Linked DNA regions of Homo sapiens: region 2 is linked to region 1. The links are contacts of gene promoters, found by promoter capture Hi-C in blood cells and fetal thymus (Javierre and others, 2016). All regions are on one chromosome and are shown on one strand. Each heading gives the region's core, a stretch centred on a gene start or on the middle of the fragment in contact. The rest is flanking DNA. Distances are from core to core; before and after follow the strand shown.

The links. Contacts are between HindIII fragments. The CHiCAGO score rates a contact against its expected background, and 5 or more counts as called.
Region 2: a contact is called between the fragment with the promoter of KLHL6-AS1 here and the fragment with the promoter of MAP6D1 in region 1, in 8 of 17 cell types (erythroblasts, megakaryocytes, neutrophils and 5 more). The highest score is 13.5, in erythroblasts.

What each region holds. Positions count from the first base shown.
Region 1 is chr3:183,824,278-183,827,876 of GRCh38, forward strand. It overlaps MAP6D1 (MAP6 domain containing 1), which reads right to left and starts at 1,300. Exons shown (of 3, transcript NM_024871.4): 1 at 870-1,300. The coding sequence starts at 1,270. It also overlaps a transcript of PARL not described here. RefSeq lists silencers at 878-1,007, 1,028-1,097, 1,158-1,507. The HindIII fragment of the contact is 2,997 bases long and covers 1-1,965 here.
Region 2 is chr3:183,547,103-183,550,360 of GRCh38, forward strand. It overlaps KLHL6-AS1 (KLHL6 antisense RNA 1), which reads left to right and starts at 1,633. Exons shown (of 2, transcript NR_046687.1): 1 at 1,633-1,861. The region is part of intron 1 of KLHL6 (kelch like family member 6); the gene reads right to left. The HindIII fragment of the contact is 1,687 bases long and covers 1,306-2,992 here.

The sequences.
Region 1 (3,599 bases), core at 50-2,549:
TAGTCAATGGTAAGGAAGTAGATAAATAAAACTTGAAGATATAAAGGCATATCCATAGGATAAAATACTGCACGTTTATTAAAATTCATGTTGCAGAACATGTAGTAACACGGACAGACTTCTACAACTGGTGAAAAAAGTGTACAGTAAGAATCTAACCACGTAAAAATATATCAGTGCATATGCACCAAATGCACATTACGGAGTAGAAAGAACTCGTCTGGGGAGGGATCAAGGAGATACGTATTTTGTTGTAATTTCTGTACTTTCCCATTTTTCTACAGTATGAATTACTTTTGTGGTAAGAGGAAAAAAGGGAGAAAGCCCTCGGCTGTCCAGGAGCAGAGCTGGGCTGGGAGGTGGGGAGGGCCCGCGGACCCGTTCTCCCTGAAAGCCCCTGTCACAGTGGGACTCTGAAGGGCTCACCCACACGGGACCCTGCGCTCGGTCCTCACCACCAACGCCCGCACACTAGGCAGTGACCGGAGAGAGCTGGGGGACATGGCCTGCGCGCACCCCTCGCACGGCTAGGCCCGGCGGTGGGAGTTAAAGGGAGGCCGGTTCCAACTCGGCTGAAGGCAGGCCATTCTGACGGCTGCCCCCAGGAGGGCGGCTGCGAGGGCAGCGGTGCGCTCCCGGCACGGGGGTGCTCGAGCACTGAGTCCGGGCATGGAGCAGCGAAGGCGCCGCCTGCAGTGCCCACGGACCAAACGGGGGTGACCTCTGAGGCCGCCGGCAGCTCCGAGGTCGCGTGGGATCCGGGCTCCAGGCGCCTCCGCTCTGCCGCCCACCCCATCCCTCTGGCTCCGGGCCTCCGCGTCCTCCCACCACAGGGTGGGGACTCGTTGCGGTCCCTACCCAGCCCATACCTGTACGACGTGGTCACTGCTGCAGCCGCGTCCGCGTCGCCGATGGGCAGCACGTAGACCCCGCGGGCGCCGGGCGCAGGTGGCGCGGAGGACTGCGCGGAGGATTTGCCCCTGCGGCCGCCCGCCCCCGGTCCGCGCCCCGGCGGCGGATCCTTGGGCCCGGCGGGCGTGGTCCACAAGCCGAAGTCCCGCTGGTACTGAGTGAGCGGCACGTCCCGGCCGGAATCCCGGGCGCCCGCGGGAGGCTGGCCCCTGCGCGAGGCGGCGCCGCCCGTGCCCGGCTCCTCGCTGTCGAGGTCCGAGTAGCCGTGCAGAGTGAGCGGCACCGCCACGTCGGAGCGGTCCAGCTGGTTCCAGCGCCGCGCCAGGCAGCACAGGCGGCTGATACAGGGCCACGCCATGCCAGCCCCGGCGCCCGCCGCCCCGCTCCCGGCGCGCGGCGCTCCCGGCCGCGCCTCCTGCGCCCAGCGTCCCCGCCCCCGCGGCCCGCCCCGCGCCGCCGCAGCACCGCCCCCCGGCACGAGGGTGGGCGTCCCGGGAGGGGGCGCACTCGGCGGCAGCCCCACTTGGCCGGGGCCGGCTGCGCACGGCTGGAGCTGGAGGGAGCGCGGATGGGGGAAAGGCTGCACCGTCGCCAGGGGGCACCGGAAACCGCCTGCATTCATTTACAAGTGTCCATCTCGAAGAATGCCTCAGAATTGAATCCAAAGTTCCCTCAGTGTCATCTTATAAATGGCCCCGGCTTCGCAGAGGCCAAGGGCCCGATGGTCGCAGCTGGGAGCAGTCCGCCAGCCGGGAGGTTCTCCATGTGGCCTCGGGACGCCCAGCGACTGCTGCATTTGTGCCAGGCTGCACCGCATGGACTCCGCGGGCACAGGGGCAGGTGCAGCAATGAGGGTGTCAGAGAAGACTCGGGGCCCTGCTTCCCGGAGAACACGTGTTTCAGTCAGCCTGTGAGTCGCCGCCTATTTGCCTTTAGGATGCTAGTCTACATTTGTGACAACCAATCCACTTTTCATTAGAATTGGCATTAGCCACCAATCGACCTTTCCCTGGGTTCTGAAATTCCTAATTTTAAAGCATGGCCATTTGCAAAAGCTTTAGTTTGATAAAGCGGCCACAGAACTGGCCACAAGGCTATCAAGTTCCTTTCCTCCTGTGCATGCATGGCTGTTTTCAGGCAGAGCTGTTGAGGGATCCTCCAGCGTAAAGGCAGGTCTGTTCAATGCAGGACACCGTCTCAAACAACTCCCTGACCACCCACAAACGCTTTTCTGAATATTTGACACATGCTCTCGGTATACACTGCAGACCAATTACTAATAACACTACTGAGACAGCATTAATTACCCAGAGCTCCATTTCAAGGTTGTACTTGGAAGGTATCCAGTCTGCGCCTGGGAGGGGACTGCAGCACATCCCTGGCCAGTCAGAAAACAGATTCATCTCCCAAAACATTGCCTGTCTTAGCTTGAAGTTGTAGCAAAGTGACATGACGGCTGCCTAGAAGTGGCAGCAGGTCAGCTGAGCAGGCCAGGCCATGTCCCAGCAGGCAGCAGGCGAGGCGCCAGGTGTAGAGGGAGATCCTGGAAAATGACACACAGGGGCCGGGTCAGAGTGAACTCTTTGTGGACTGTCCGCCACGGCCCTGGGTTAGCCAGCCTGGCAGATGGCGCTTGGGACTAAAATTCTCCATCTCGCAGGAAAAGAGAGCAGCTCTCTTTTTATTACTTCATTGATCAAACAACAGTCAAAGAGCAGTTGCTATGTGCTAGGAATAATTCTGGGTGCCTTCAGGAGGTTTAGTGTGGTAGTGAGGGACGGAAGGAAGTGTAATTGAACTGACAAGGCCAGGTCAGCATGAGAGGGAGGCAGGCTGGGGAAAGCTGGACTCGCCACCTGTTGTGAGGGAGGGTGGTTGGGCCAGGTGGGAATGTAGGTCACGGGGGAGGAGGGTTCAGCTGAGGTAGCAGACCATGGAGGGTCTTGGTGGCCACACTAAGGAATTTTAGCTTTTCATATGGCCGGGTGCAGATGGCTCATGCGTGGAATCCCAGCACTTTGGGAGGCTGAGGCAAGAGGACTGCTTGAGCCCAGGAGTTTGAGAACTGCCTGGGCAACACAGTGAGACCCTGTCTCTACAAAAAACTTTTAAAAATTAGCCAGGCGTGGTAGTGTGTGCCTGCAGTGCCAGCTACTTGGAGGCTGAGGCTTGAGCCCAGGACTTCAAGGCTACAGTGAGCTATGATTGCACCACTGAACTCCAGCCTGGACGAGAGAGAGAGAGAGAGACCCTGTCTCAAATAAATAAAAGTTTTTCACAGGTGACAACAAAGGAATGACAGACATGTTTTTAGCACTCTGGCAGGCATATGGAGAAGCACAGGGTTGCTTTGGAGACCAGCTGGAAGAACAGGCTCAACAGTCCAGGGACTAAGAAGTGAGGACCACCACGGAGTCACAGGCACTGGGAAGGCTGAGGGGCTGAATTCTAGAAATAAGAGGCGAGAGAGGGAGATCTCGAATGGCTCCGGGTTTCAGACTTCACCGATTGCTCGTGTCACTCCTTAAGCCGAGTGCTATTTGAGGGGCCTGTGCAGGGCGGGGGGGTGGTCCCAGAGCCTGGAACCATGCGTGTGTTGCAGTAGACACATTTACTAAGAGTACAGAGAGATTCTGTGGGTCTGGAGCTCAGAATCCTCACAGATAACTGAGGCTTCAGCAAGTGCA
Region 2 (3,258 bases), core at 383-2,882, 280 kb before region 1:
GTGTTTCACCATGTTGGCCAGGCTGGTCTTGAACTCTTGACCTCAGGTGATCCACCAGCTTCAGCCTCCCAAAGTGCTGGGATTACAGGAGTAAGCCACTGCACCCGACCTCAGAGTCTTTATTTATTCCACTTAGGACAACTATTTGTATACTCACTGCTGAAGTACTAATGCATTAGACTAAAGAGCGCTGGAGGTGCTATATAACATTTAAGATATGCTAATATCCAAAGAATTCTGAATGGCAAAGCACATCTGGCTCCCAGATTTTTGGGTAAGGGATTATGGGGCTTTCTGATAATGTTAACAGTTTTCATTTTGGTGTTATTTGTCTACCTTTTCTCACATGCATATCTTTCCATAGTTTACATGCAATTTTGCATCTTGCTTTGCCCCCTGTTTTCATTATAATATTTTTCCTACGGTGCTCCATGCTTTTCATAATGACTATTTATTATATTGCTACCAATTTCAACAGAGGCATAATATGAAAATCATTCTCTCACTGTGGACATTTAGGTTGCTTCCAGTATTTTGTTTTTATACGTGACGTGGTAATCTTTGCATTAAGCATTTTTTCCCAGTTTGGAATATGGACGGCCTACATTTTTTCAGGCACTTTGCTGGATTCTTTTTATTTCATTCAGTCTTCATAATATCAAGTAGATAGCATGGTGTCCATTTCATCCTTGGGGGAGCTCACTTTGATGGGAAGAGTGGTTTCCCCATGATGTCTAAACTGAAAACAGGCCTCTTCACAGAGAACAGAAATGTGGCTAACAGGTCATTTCCTATGACCCCTCAGCTCCCCAAGACTCTTTTGCTAGTGTAGGCTACATAAGCTGAAAATGAGGAGGAAATGTAAAAATCAGAGCCTCCTTGTGCTCATACACACATGCACAGGCAGGATACTGTTGGAACATTCATTCCAGTTTATGTCTGGGGGCTGAGCTGACAGACCCCCATAGCAGCAAGGACCCAGCATGCCTTAGGACATCAGTCTGGATCAAAGGGTTAAAAAAGAGACAAGGAAGCAGGGTCAGGGTGTGCAAGGTGAAAAGACAGTGCGCTCTGAAAATATATGGGACCTCACTGTGGCTAGAACCAGAAACTGGTTCTCACCATTTGGGAAGCCCAGCTCACTGCAAAATATGGCACACTCTGTAAGTGACAGTGACCTGTGAGGGCAGCCCTGCTGTGATTCCCAGGGTTGGCAGAGGGAGGGGAGTCCTAGTGATGAGGGGAGGGGTTATCAGGCTTTTCTCTGCCCTGTCTCATGACTGGCCCTTCCTTCATGCATAGAAAAGCTTCCAGGCTGAGGCTGAGTCATTAGCAATCTCCTTTGTTGATGCTGCTGCCTGGAATCCTTGTCTGGATTCCTGTCTCACTCCTGTCTTGTACCGCAGTCTCTAGGTCTGGTTCCTTGAGGCTATGTTGAGAGGACTTTACCCGCCAGCTACAAAAATCAGGCATAAGGCCAGGAATGGGAAGGTTATTGTGAGCACAATCTATGCACTTGTTAATCATTATTACATATTAACCAATTACTGCATGGCAGAAAAGTGGGGCAAGAGACTACTCTTAAGCCACATGTAGATGTTGTAATCCTGAGCTTTGTCTCCATAATGGGGTAAGATGTCAGAAAAGAGTCAGAAAGCCCAGGTGATAGAATAAGTGCCAAGAACATATACACCATGGAATACTGTGCAGCCATAAAAAGGAATGAGTTCATGTCCTTTGCAGGGACATGGATGAAGCTGGAAACCATCATTCTCAGCAAACTAACACAGCAACAGAAAACCAAACACCGCATGTTCTCACTCATAAGTGGGAGTTGAACAATGAGAACACATGGACACAGGTAGGGGAACAACACAACCCGTGGCCTGTCGGCGGGTGGGGGACAAGGGGAGGGAGAGCATTAGGAAAAATACTTAATGCATTCAGGGCCTAAAACCTAGATGATGGGTTGATAGGTGCAGCAAACCACCATGGCACGTGTATACCTATGTAACAAACCCGCGCATTCTGCACATGTATCCCAGAACTTAAAGTAAAATTTAAACAAATTTTAAAAAAGAGAATAAGTGCCAAGAAAAACAAGAATGAGTTAAGGCCATGTAGGTCTGTATTAAAAATCTGGCTAACAGCAAATGTGTTGAGGATTGCTGCTGCCACAGTGGGTACACTTGAGAACTCAAGTGAAGCCAATGATTGTAACACCAGGGTCAGGCCCTATATTTTCCACTTTTAATATTTTCCAATATTGTGGATCAGAACCAATATGATAGTAAATATTTCAGCATTATATATCTATAATCCCTTATCTGTAGTTTCAAAATTCCCAAAGTGCTGATAAATGTAAAGTTTTTTGTAACTTATTTCATGGCTAAATCCAACTTGAATGGCACTCGTCAGGTCGGGACACCTGAGTCTTGCTCTGTTGCCCCGGCTGGAGTGCAGTGGCATGATCTTGGCTCACTGCAACCTCCGCCTCCCAGATTCAAGCAATTCTCCTGCTTCAGCCTCCCGAGTAGCTGGGACTACAGGCATGTGCCACCACGCCCAGCTAATTTTTTGTATTTTTAGTAGAGATGGGGTTTCACCATGTTAGTGCTTGACTCTTAAATAGGAACAGATATCCAAAGACTACCAGATATTTAAGTATAGCCTCTAAAATAAAAGACAGAGGCCAGGTGTGGTGGCTCATGCTTGTAATCCTAGCACTTTGGGAGGCCGGGTCAGGAGGATCCCTTGAGCCCAGGAGTTTGAAACTATCTGGGCAACATAGGGAGACCTTGTCTCTAGGAAATAAATAAATACATACATAAAATAGAATAAAAGAGACAAAAACAAAGAGAAAAATACAGTGAAAACAAACAGTAAAAAACAAACAAAAACAGAAGAGTGGTTTTTTAAAAAATATAAACCTCAAAGAGATTAAGTGAAAATATGACCTATACAAAACAAGAACAGGATGTTATAAAAAGGAAGCTTCATACATAAAACAAGAAAAAAGTCTTGGAAGTTAAAAACTGAGATTCTCAACAGGTTGGAAGATAAAATTGAGAAAAATCTTCCAGAAAGTAAAACAGAAAGATAAGAGGATGGACAACAGGAGAGAGAAGATGAGAAAGCTAGAGACTGTTCTAGAAGTCCACATCTACTGAATAAGTGATCCAGAAATAGTAAACAAGGAAAACAGTAACCATGTAATTACCAGGCAGTAATATGAGGAAATGTTCAGGATTAAAGGAT